3 separate regions of the Homo sapiens genome follow, and all the other regions are linked to region 2. The links are contacts of gene promoters, found by promoter capture Hi-C in blood cells and fetal thymus (Javierre and others, 2016). All regions are on one chromosome and are shown on one strand. Each heading gives the region's core, a stretch centred on a gene start or on the middle of the fragment in contact. The rest is flanking DNA. Distances are from core to core; before and after follow the strand shown. Region 1 holds the start of WDR45 (WD repeat domain 45). Region 2 holds the start of SLC38A5 (solute carrier family 38 member 5). Region 3 holds the start of PPP1R3F (protein phosphatase 1 regulatory subunit 3F).

The links. Contacts are between HindIII fragments. The CHiCAGO score rates a contact against its expected background, and 5 or more counts as called.
Region 1: the fragment with the promoter of WDR45 here is called in contact with the fragment with the promoter of SLC38A5 in region 2 in 7 of 17 cell types (non-activated CD4 T cells, naive CD8 T cells, activated CD4 T cells and 4 more); the score reaches 7.9 in non-activated CD4 T cells.
Region 3: a contact is called between the fragment with the promoter of PPP1R3F here and the fragment with the promoter of SLC38A5 in region 2, in 1 of 17 cell types (neutrophils). The highest score is 5.6, in neutrophils.

The regions. Positions count from the first base shown.
Region 1 is chrX:49,078,583-49,082,966 of GRCh38, reverse strand. It overlaps WDR45 (WD repeat domain 45), which reads left to right and starts at 3,080. Exons shown (of 11, transcript NM_001029896.2): 1 at 3,080-3,216. It also overlaps the pseudogene RNU4-52P. RefSeq lists silencers at 2,311-2,380, 2,623-2,917 and enhancers at 2,623-2,917, 2,629-3,129. The HindIII fragment of the contact is 3,362 bases long and covers 2,123-4,384 here.
Region 2 is chrX:48,469,010-48,472,328 of GRCh38, reverse strand. SLC38A5 (solute carrier family 38 member 5) reads left to right here and starts at 2,069. Exons shown (of 17, transcript NM_033518.4): 1 at 2,069-2,147; 2 at 2,893-2,994. The HindIII fragment of the contact is 10,592 bases long and covers 1-3,319 here.
Region 3 is chrX:49,267,133-49,271,184 of GRCh38, reverse strand. It overlaps PPP1R3F (protein phosphatase 1 regulatory subunit 3F), which reads right to left and starts at 1,392. Exons shown (of 4, transcript NM_033215.5): 1 at 312-1,392. The coding sequence starts at 1,315. RefSeq lists a silencer at 1,117-1,356 and enhancers at 2,057-2,106, 1,804-2,303. The HindIII fragment of the contact is 7,823 bases long and covers 1-4,052 here.

The DNA of each region.
Region 1 (4,384 bases), core at 1,831-4,330, 610 kb before region 2:
CGGAGGTTGCAGTTAACCGAGATCGCCCCACTGCACTCCAGCTTGGATGACAGAGCGAGACTCCGTCTCAAAAAAAAAAAAAAAAATTAGCTGGGCGTGGTGGTGCATGCCTGTAATCTCAGTTACTCAGGAGGCTAAGGCAGGAGAATCACTTGAACCCAGGAAGCAGAGGTTGCAGTGAGCCGAGATCGTGCCACTGCAGTCCAGCCTAGGTGACAGAGTGAGACTCCATCTTAAAAAAAAAGAAAGAAAGAAAAAGAAAAACCAAGAGAGTGAGAGGAAGAAATTGTGGGTTTCACTAGAAAGTCACAGGAGAGGGCAGAGAAGTGATTGCTGGTTTGGCAAGATTATTATTCATCAGTGGTCTGGTTAAGAGCAGTCCCAAAGACACAGGAGTGACAAACACCAAATTGAATTGAGTTGAATATGGTCTGGGACATGAGGAAGTGGAGTCTGAAGAAAGCCAGATGATTGGCCTTGTTGAGGAGCACAGTAATGGAATCATGCCAAGGGGAGTATATAGGGCCAAAATTCACAAGTAAATATATACATGGGAATTGACGACACAGTATCTGAAACAACCTAGGCAGCCATCAGTTGGGGAAGGGCTGAACAATGCTACATAATATCATGAACCAGTTAAAAAGGATGAGTTAAAAAGATGTTCTTATATATTAATATATGAAAAAACAGAAGCATCAAAACAATACTTCAAAAAAAGTAAAGGGGGGATTTCATCAATGTGAAACCCTGATTGTATTAAAAGTATGAGATTTCTCTGTATTTTTTCTTTAATATTCAGTCTTCATAGACTGTCAAAAATTGCCAATGCCGACTATATTGCAAGTCTTCGGGGCGGGGTATTGGGAAGTTTCCAATTAGCAATATCCACACCTTGGCTAAACCTCATTGGCTATGATACTGCCACTGCAAAAAGCATATTTCTTTTTTTTCAAGAATATTCTTTTTTTTTTTTTTTTTTTGGAGACAGGGTTTCCCTCTGTTGCCCAGGCTGGAGTGCAGTGGCGCGATCTTGGCTCACTGCAACCTCTGCCTTCTGGGTTCCAATGATTCTCCTGCCTCAGCCTCCCAAGTAGGGGACTTACAGGTGCCCGCCACCACGCCCGGCTAATTTTTTGTATTTTAGTAGAGAGGAGGTTTCACCGTGTTACCCAGGGTGGTCTCAAACCCCTGAGCTCAGGCAATCCACCTGCCTCGGCCTCCCAAATTGCTGGGATTACAGGCATGCACCACCATGCCCAGCCCTTTTTTTTTGAGACGGGAATTTCGCTCGTCTCCCAGGCTGGAGTGCAATGGCAGGATCTGGGCTTGCTGCAACCTCCGCCTCCTAGGTTTAAGTGGTTCTCCTGCCTCAGCCTCCCCAGTAGCTAGGATTACAGGCGCGTGTCACCACGCCCGGCTTTTTTTTTTTTTTTCGAGACAGAGTCTCACTCTATTACCCAGGCTGGAGTGCAGTGGTGCGATCTCTGCTCACTGCAACCTCCTCCTCCTGGCTTCAAGTGATTCTCCTGCCTCAGCCTCCCGAGTAGCTGGGACTACAGGCACGCACCACCATGCCTGGCTAACTTTTTGTATTTTTAGTAGAGAGGGGGTTTCACCATGCTGGCCAGGCTGATCTCGAACTCCTGACCTCATGATCTGCCTGCTTCGGCCTCCCAAAGTGCTGGGATTACAGGCGTGAGCCACCGCGCCCAGCCTATTTATTATTTCTTAATGTAAAGTTTAATTAAAAATCCTTCCAGCCGGGCGCAGTGGCTCACGCCTGTAATCCCAACACTTTGGGGGGCCGAGGCAGGCGGATCACCTGAGGTCAGGAGTTCAAGACCAGACTGATCAACAGGGAGAAACCCGGTCTCTACTAAAAATACAAAATTAGCTGGGCGTGGTGGCACATGCCTGTAATCCCAGCTACTTGGGAGGCTGGGGAGGCTGAGGCAGAAGAATCCCTTGAACCCGGGAGGCGGAGGTTGTGGTGAGCCAAGATCGCGCTAATTGCACTCCAGCCTGGGCAAAAAGAGCCAAACTCTGTTAATCAAAAAAAAAAAAAAAAAAAAAAATTCCTTCCAGTATGCATATAATTTGGGGCCTTTTTTTAAAAGCTTTATCATAGGTAGGACCTCTTTTTTTTTTTTTTTTTAACCCAAAGCATTCATACCTTTTACTATCAAAAAGCTATTTTGTATTTTGTAAAAATAAAAGCAGAGGCCGGGCGTGGTAGCTTAAGCCTGTAATCCCAGCACTTTGGGAGGCCGAGGTGGGTGGATAACCTGAGGTCAAGAGTTCGAGACCAGCCTGACCAACATGGTGAAACCCCGTCTCTACTAAAAATACAAAAATTAGATGGGCGTGGTGGCGCACGCCTGCAGTCCCAGCTACTCCGGAGGCTGAGGCAGGATAACCGTTTGAACCCGGGAGGCGGAGGTTGCAGTGAGCCGAGATCGCGCCACTGCACTCCAGCCTGGGAGACAGAGCGAGACTCTGTCTCAGAAAACAAAACTAAACAAAACACAAAAGACAAAACTCAGAGCTGGCGGGGTTGGGGGGACAGGGTGGGGAGAAAGAAAGCGAAATCTGTTCCTTGGCTTCCCGGAGCCAAGGAGGTTTCTCCACTTTCAAGGTCTCCAGGTCCGCCCCCGCCTGTAACCCCCAGCGCCGCCCCTCTGGAAGCCTGGGAGGACTGTGTGTTGCGAACCGGGGCGGCTACTCTCGGCCGCCGCGGAGGTCCGCGTCTTGTTAGCAGGGAAGGTTTACTCCCCCATTGTGGGTGACCAAGGGGCTGAGGGCTTGGCCGGTTTCGCTTTGCTGGGGGCAAGGCACGCTCTCTCTCCCCACCCTTCCGGGTTCCCTCAGACAGTCTCGGCCTTGAGGAACCCCCTTCGCCTCCGGTCCCCCAGCCAACCTTCCTCCGCTCCCCGCGCCCTCCCCGGAGAACCCCACTGTCACTCGCGATGCTCCGAAGACCCGGGAACTAGGCGAGGAAGGCGGTGGCCGCCTTTTTCCAGCTGGGGTGAGTCATTTCCTGCGACAGGCTCCCTCCCCCGGAAGTAGGGCCTGATGTAAACACCCGAGCCGGGCTCCAAGGCCCGGGAGGTCAGAAAACCGGGCCGCGGGCGGCACCGACAGCTGGGGCCCGGGTCAGGGACACGCGGAGGTCAGGCCGGTGAAGGCGGCAGGAAGCTGGAGCACGATCCCAGGGTTGGTTGGGTCTGGGGGAGGCTGGAAGTCTTTCGAGTAGGGGTCTAAGGCAGAGGTCTTGAGTGGGTGCTGGCGTTGGAAGGAGCATGCGGCTGGTCTTGGGAGAGGGGCGAGGCATCCCGGACAGAGTCTTGGAATGGAGGTGCAAAAAAGGGGTGTTGAAAGTTGGAGCTGTCCAGAGAATAACTCTAAGGCAGAGCTGTCCAAAGAAAGAGCATGAGGCATTCCAGTGGAGGGTGTAACTGAAAGAAAGGAAGGAGATTTGGACTCTTGGAGGATGGGGGAGGGAGTATGTCTGGCCAGAGTTATTGGGGAGTTGAGGATTTGAAGGGAAGTTGGGGGCTCTATGGCAGTAATCTTAGTAGGGGACTGCGCAGGCATCTTAGGGGTTGAGGTTCTCCTAGGTAGGAGTTTTGGGTGGTTTGTTTTGGGCAAGGGTCTTAGAAGGCAAGGGTGCCCTGGGGCGGGGTCTTGGATAGGGGTCTAGAGGGGGAATCTTAGGAGGATGGGGGGGGTTCCTGGGGTTGGGTCCAGGCCAGGTTATGTTGTAGTCAAGGACAGCAGAACACAAGGAAGGAGATGTCCCAGGGGTGGAAAATTTAGAGTGCTAGGGGGAATCCTAGGGTAGAGTCCCCAGGGCATAAGCCAATCTAAGGGAATGTCTAGGCTGGCCCTGAAGGGTAGTTACCAAGGCATGAGAAGGGGTCATCCCAAGGTAGGCATCCTGAAGGAGTTTGGGGAAGCCGGTTGAGGGGGAAAGGTGTGAGAGGACTCTGGGGTGGTCAAATAGGTTGGGGTACAGTTAGAAGGGTATGAGCAGAGGAGTTCCTGGGGATGGCAGACCAAGCATAGCAGTCCCAGGGCCAAGTCAGGGAGGTACAAGAAGTGCATCTCCTAGCCCACTTTTGTCTATTTATTGAGAGAGTCCGGTGCTAGGTCAGGTTTGAAGATGAGAAATGGGTTGGGAGTGGTTCCAGGCCATGTCTGGCATTGGGATCAAGATTGGCTGGCGGTGGGGAGGAGATATCACGGGGGCACCCCCTATCACATTACTTCCTGACAAGTCAGTGAGGGCCAGCATGTAAAGAGGAGGTGTGGGGTCCACGTCAGTGTGGGCCTGGAGCTTGCCAAACCTGAAAGAAGGAGGGTTCCTGGCCATGTTGTTTGG
Region 2 (3,319 bases), core at 820-3,319:
AGCTGTGCCTGCGTCTTCCTATGTAACTTGCCTGGTGCTGCGTTCTGTCTATGGCCGCCTGCCAAACTTGTGCTTTTTTTTTTTTTTTTTTTTGAGATGGAGTCTCACTCTGTCGCTTGGGCCGGAGTGCAGTGGCGCGATCTTGGCTCACTGCAACCTCCGCCTTCCAGGTTCAAGCAATTCTCTTGCCTCAGCCTCCCGAGTAGCTGGGATTACAGGAACCCGCCACCACGCCCAGCTAATTTTTTTTGTATTTTTAGTAGAGACGGGGTTTCGCCACGTTGGCCAGGCTGGTCTCGAACTACTGACCTCATGATTCACTCACCTTGGCCTCCCAAAGTGCTGGGATTACAGGCATGAACCACTGCACCCGGCCCAACTCATACCTTTTTTTTTTTTTTTTTTTTGGCAACCGTGTGCATTGGTACTGTCTGTCGGTGCAGTTCATCTATATGTTGTTGTGTGTGTGTGTTGCTTGGGTGTTTGTCTCCTTTGTAATGGTCGTGGGTGACAAGTGTGTCAGAGTACTTGTCCCTCCTATATGTGTATCTATGCGCACGTATCTTTCTTTGTGTGTCTGCTGCTGTATTTGTGTCTCTTCTTAGCGAGTGGCTGCAGGTATGTGTGCCCTCGGGGTGTTTCTTCTGGTGCCATGGTATGAGTACTATCTGGTTCTCTTGTTTTTTCCTTGTGTAGCTTTCAGTGTGGTTTCTGGATTTTTTCTTTGCAACGATAGTAAGCGTACTCTGCATTCCTGTGCTTTGTGTTTGTGTGCAGGTATATGCTTTCCCTATATGTTTCTTTTCTGACTTGATTTGTGACTAGCTGTGTGTGTACACGGCTGTGTGCAGCCATTTGCTGAAATGCAGTTGTGTGTGTGTGTGTGTGTGAGAGAGAGAGAGAGAGGAGAGAGAGAGAGAAGGAGACTATGGCTTTTCTGTTTGTACAAAAATCATGTCAGCCTATGAGTGCCTCTCTCTGTGACTGGAGCTGTATGTGGTTACATGTGGTCACAAGTGCACATTCAAGTTCACATACACAGAGATATCATTTTAGGGCTTGAACCTGGAAGTTTGCCTCCAGGGTCATCTGAACCTGGATTCAGGTTCAGATCCAGGGCCATCTGAACCTGGATCGTGTGTGTGGGAAAGACCCAGGACCCACACACAATGTCATCAGCTGTGTGTAATTGTGTGCTCTGTGTGTGGCTGTGAATCTGTGTGTGTGATTTGCCTGTTGATTGTCTTTGGCATGGCTGTGGGTCCACGGGCGGTGAGGTTCAGGAGTCTCGAGTGTCTGGAAATCGGCACAAGCCTATCCCTGTGTTAGTCTGTGCTCTCTGTGAGCGGCTCTGAGCCTGTCGGTATTGATAGCTGTAAGACTATCGTCACTCTGTGTGGCCACGTGTGTGACTGTCCCATGAGCCATTGCTCTTAACGTGCAGTGGTGAGTCTGTGTGTGTTCATGTCTGTCAGTCTTTATTCTCTTGTGTGGCTGTGAGTCTTTGTGCACCTCTGTGAGTGATGGCGAGTTGGCCCCCGTATCTGAGCCCCTTGATGGGGCTGTGATGGGTCCTGTTGTGTAGCTGCGATTCCTGAGTGTGCAGGAGTCTCTCTCCCGCTGTGGGGAAGTAAACGCCCCATCCCTTGTCCTCCTCCAACTGTGGGTGGGGTGAGGGCATCTAGGCCAGCTTTGAAGCCCCAGCCAGCTCCTGGCCTTTCCGGGAATTCTGTGTTCCCTGTCGGGGGTGGGCAGGCGGGCGAGGGGCCCAGACAGAGGCCTCTTGTCCACCTGGGCTTCAAGCAGCCCAGTCGAGGTGGTCCCAGACCCCAAGTCCACCCTGCCTGACATCCTGTAGCGGACACGTGGCTTGCCTGGGACAGGCATGCCTGTCATATGCCTGGAGGGGAGTGAACAGACGGACTCCCATAGAAGACAGACGGACAGACAGATAGTGGGACTTCTCAGGGCTTGGACAAGCCCCACCCCACGCTTGGGGTGGGGTCCAGGACTACAGTGCCCGCCCAGTTTGCGGACAGTGTGAGTTCACAGTCCACATTCCCCACCCAGCCACAAATGCCCTCCCTGCCTCCCTCTGGGGGCCCCCAAGATCTAGGGTCCTCTCGTGCCTAGGCTGTCTGCCTGAGGTCTGCCTGGAATAGCCTGGCTACTACCCCTGCACCTGTTCCCCTGCTGTCCCCAGGCCTCTCTGCCTGAATCTGCCTCTCTCTGCCTCTTTTCTCCTGTCCCTCCAGGAGTCTCTCTGCCTCAACCACTCTCTCTGCCCCTTCATCTCTCTGAGCTGGTGTGTCTGGTCCTACCCTCTGTTTGGGGAGCTGTCTGGCTCTGTCCCCCACCTCTTGGCCAGCCTGTGTCTCCTGTCTATGACTGAGCCCAATTGCCTGTTGCCTTTCTGCAGGTGTTTCCACGAGCCTATCCCTACCCACCTGTTTGTTTCTGAGTCTGCCTGTGTGTCCCTTTCTCCCTGTCTCTGCCTGTCTTCCAAGCTCCCCTAGCATCCCCTCCTCCCGCCCATCTGTCTTTCTGTCCCTTCTGTGGTCTGTCTGTTCCTGTGCTGTTTCTCATGCCTGCTTTCTTTGTAACTTCAGTTCTCCTACTCTCTCTCTGTCTCCTCTCTGCACCTTTTTCTGCCATCCATCCCATCCTGCTGTCCGTCTGCTCTGTGAGTCCATCCCCTCTGTCTGCCTGTCACTCTCTCTAGCTGTGGGTCTACACCCTCAATCTTTCAGGCCATTTCCCCCACCATCAACACACAAACAAACCGCTGTCTCCCTCCAAGTGGGTCCAGATAGGGGGCGCCCCTTCTCCACCTCTTCCCCCGCCCAGGGCCAGAAGGAGGGAAACGAAATTAAAATTAACATTTCTTCTCAGGAAAAAAAAAAAAGTACCGCTCCAGAGCAGGAGCCTAGGCAGCCGAGAGGGTGCCCGAACCTGAGTCTGAGTTGCGGCCACTTCAGGAGCTGAGAGGAGCAGGTAGGTGAGGAGGGAGCGTGGGCTGCGGGGATGGTGTTCCTGGGGGCCTGAGATATGAGTAGGGGTCCTGGGAGGGGGCTCGGGGTTCCTTGGAGACATTTTAGCACTAGTGGGGAATGGAATGGCGTGTATGGGGAGGTCCTTTTTGTACCCTGATCCCAGGAAGTGAATTCAGGTGTGGGTGGGAGGCTCCGGAGGGTGCTGGTGGTGGGGGATGGGACTCCTTGAGACCCTCCCTGTCCCAGGAACGGGATTCAGGACTTGGGAAAAGGATTTCCTGAGCCAGTTTGAGCTCTAATGGGGACCTTGAATGGGGGTTTCTGAG
Region 3 (4,052 bases), core at 143-2,642, 800 kb before region 2:
ATTTATCCTATCTGCTTGCTTGCTTGTTTTTTCAAACTGTCTCCCATAGGAGCCTGTATGAATCCTTGAGGGTAGGGTAGATGTCTGTCTTGTTCAGGGCTTTACAGTGGAACTCAATAAATGGAGGAATAAAACCCCAGTTAAAACAGTGCCTAGCACGTGTTTGACCTCCATCACTCTTTGACTGACTGACTCAATGCACCCTCCTCCCTGTCCTGGAGAGCAGGCCTGAGGGGTTCCTGGGCCGGAATGCTTGTCCTCCATCCCAGACACAGCCCTGCGTTGGCGGAGGTGGCGCTGGCTGACATTACCTGCGCCTCACCGGCTTCATGCAGCTCTTCAGCTGCCTGGCCTCAGCCTCCACGGGACCCTGGCACTCGGGCTGTGGCTCCAGCTGCGGCAGCTGCTGCTGCTGGGGCAGCCCTTCGGCATCAGTGGGTGTGGGAGCGGGTGCGATCCGGAGCAGGACTGTGTAGTTGCGGCCGTGGTTGTTGGCCCAGAAAGTGCCCTCAGGGGTCTCATAGCGCACCACGAAGTCGAGGCGCGCCCCATCGCCCGCGCCCTCAGCAAAGGGCAGCTGGAAGGCAAAGCGGTCGGTGCGGCCGCCGTCGTCGGGCGAGGAGGCGGATGCCTGGCCGGGACCCAGGCCGAGCCCCGGATCCAGGATGGGATCTCCTGCTCCTGTTCCTCCCGCTCCTGCCCACGGCGGGCTGCGCGGGACGTAGCGCGCTGGGTGGTCGCAAAAGGAAGCCCAGCCGTCGTGTGAGGCCCGCACGTGCACCGCCTTCTCGAAGGAGCGGTTCAGCACGCGTACCAACCCGCGCAGCACCGGCGGGCGGCCCCCAGGCACCCACACCCCGGCACCCCCGGGGACCGCTCCGGGAGGCGGCAGCAGCGCCTCCAGCTCCACCATGACGCGCCCCAAGCGCTCCAGACGGCCCGGCGCGGGCGGCAGCGAAAATGTGGGGACCAGGTAAAACCCCCCGCCAGCGGGGACGGGGCACAGCGGTGAGGGCTCGGGGCAAGCCTCCTCTTCCTCCTCCCCTTCATCCCCATCCTCGCCATCGTCGTCCTCGTCGGCCCCGCCGCCGCCGCCGCCATCTTGCCCGGCCGCCGCCGCCATCTTGCCCGCCCCGGGCCCGCCCCACGGCCGGTAGCGGCGCAACTGCGCCAGCGGCAGCCCCAAGGCCTCGTCGGCGAACAGCACCCTCCGCGGGGCCACCGCCGCCTCGACCGAGGTGCGGGGCTCACCCGCGGCCGGCGAGGGGGGCGCGGAATGCCGCAGCGGGGGCTCCACAGGGGCCGTACGCGCCATATCGGCGGCGGCGGCGGCACCGACGGCACCGGCGGCGGGACCGGCGGGGGCAGGGCCTGAAGGGGCGGGCAGCCAATGGGAAGGCCAGCGCGGAGGGGTACGGCTCACGGGGGCATAGGCGGTGAGATGAAGACAAGTATTGCAGAGGGCCAATGGGCAGCCATGCACGGATGACGTACAGCGAATTGAGAGCCGGAGAAGCACGCAGCCAATGGGGATGCCCGGGAGTGGGCGGTGTAGGGGGCGGGATGATCGAGGAATCAATGGAGAGGCCGGAATGGGGGTGGTGCGAAATCCATGATGAAGAAAACAGAAGCAGACAGCTAATGCGGAAGTCTGAGCGAGAGAGGCATGTGGGCGGTGGGAAAAGTGGAATGGCTACAGGCGATGAGGGCAGCCGGGAACGAACGCAGAGGCCCAAAAAGTGGGAGATCCCGCGGGTTGCGTAGGCGGTGGAACGGTAGCTAGAGAGAGAGAACAGCCAATGGAGAGCCACGCGTGGGATGACGACAATGGCTGCAGCGAGCCAATGGGGAGGCTTGTGAGCGTGCACTGCGGCTTCGAAGGGGTGGTGCCAAGGTGGAGCTAGCCAATACGAAGGCTAAAAGGAGACCAAGAGGCGGGTGTGTAGGGAGCCGAGCCAATGGAGGTGGAGGCTGAAGGCGGGAGCGAGGACGAGAGCTGGCGGATAGCCAATGAGGGAGCCAGGGTGAAGGCGTAGAGACCTCAAAGGACAGTACTAGTATGGGATGAGCCAATGCCGAGGCTAGATAGTGCAGCGGGACGGAGGGAGGACTTGGAGGCAAGATGGGGAAAAAAGCAGAGCCGACGGGGGCAGTGTAGGTGGTGTGAAGGGAGGCATGAGTAGCCAATAAGGAGGCTGGAGAGGAGGACGCTGTGTAGACAGAGTCTGAGGTATTGGGTGGCCGGACAGCAGAACCATAGAACGCAGGCAGCCATTAGGAAAAATGTGCTTCTCAGGGATGGGGTTACCCTCTCCCTAACCCTCCGTGACTCCCCATTGCCCCAGGAATACCCAGAGCCCCTGAAGGCCTAGACCACACCTTGGTGTGTGAACTAGGAAAGTGAAAATGACTGTCCTGTTGCAGTTAGTTACTTACTGGGTCCTCCCTGCCCAACTACAACCTTTTCTTGAGCAGTGCCACAAGCCAAGAATGCCCCTGATTGTTAGCCGCAAGCACTCTCCAGGACTTGATACTATTGTTGAATGAATGGCCGAATAGGAAATTTAACTTTCTGAAGGATTCACTTTTTTAAATTTCAGCTCAGCAAACACTGACCTGACTGTGTGCTACCAGAAGTTGATTGGGCATATGGGTAGCTTCTGACTAATGGAATCACAATCAAAGCCCTGTCCTTCTTGCCCAACCTGACACTCCACACCCCACAGGGGCCTCACCTCCCTTCTTTCTGTCCCCCCATCTCTGCTTCTACTGTTCCCTCTCCCAAGAGTGCTGTTCCTTCTGCTGCTTCCATCTAGTAAACTCCTTTCGCTCTCCCTTTGGGGTCTCACCTTCTGTGGGAACTCAACTGCAGCTTTTGTCCGCTGAACACATCCATTCATACATTCCTTCTCCATCCTGGGAAGATTTACTGAACACCTACTGAGTGCCAGGTTCTGAGCATGCTGTTATCTCATTAGAACCTCACAGCATCCTAGGAGGGAGGTGATCCTTCCAGCAGCCCCTCTCCCCAGGTCTCCATGTTCAGGATGTCCATGAGTTAGAAATGAATATGTTCAGCTGCAAGTAACAGAAAAATCATAAAATAATGGGGGCTTAAGCAAGACAGAACTTTATTTTTTTCTCACCTAAAAGTTCAAGCTGGCAAATAGTCCAGGGACTCCTTCCTGCCCACCTGGTTTGGGCATTGTCTGTCCCGATCTGGCTCCAAGACTCTCAGTCTTCAACAAATCCTTTTGGCTGTCTATTAAAAATATTTACCAAATCCATCCTCTTCTCACCACCTCCACTGCCAGCACTATCACCAGTCACCTAGACTACTGCAGTAGCCAGCTCCTTGCTGGTCCCCTGCTTCCACATTCAGGCCCTAGACCCCATTGTACACTCAGCATTCAGGGGCTTCCTGTTAAATCCTAACACGGTTTGTGTTTCTCCTCTGCTTGCAACCCTGTCATGCCTTCCTCCTCACTCAGCGTTGAAGCCAAAGTCCTTACCATGGCCTACAAGGTCCTGCGTGGTCTAACCTCCGAGTCCCCTTTCTGACCTCACCTCCAGCTTCTCTTCTTGCTCTCTCCACACTAACCACACCAGCCCCCTTGTAGACCTTGAACAAATCAGGTACATTCCCACCTCAGGACCTTTGCCCTGGCTGTTTCCTTTGGAGTTCCTCAGATATCTAGCTGGCTCCCTCCCTCATCTCCTTCAAGTCTTTGTCAGAGGCCCCTGTCTCTGGGGACTTTTCCTGACCCGTTTAATCTTGCCTACTCACCCCCAACTCCCAGCCCTCCCAGTCTCCTTCCCGAGAAGCCCTCCATGAGAGAGGATATAGTCCAGTATAGAGGGGAGGTAGCGACCTCTACCCCTCTCTGCCCTCCTGACCCCAGCCCCCATTCTGCAAGGATCTTGGCTTTCAGCAGCCGTAGCATTTCCCTCTCACACCCTGGGCCTGCCCAAGGGGCCAGCTCACATTCTCGGCCACCATCCTCACTTCGTTTGCCTCCTATATCTCTGGCCACTCTCTTTCATGGAGTGAG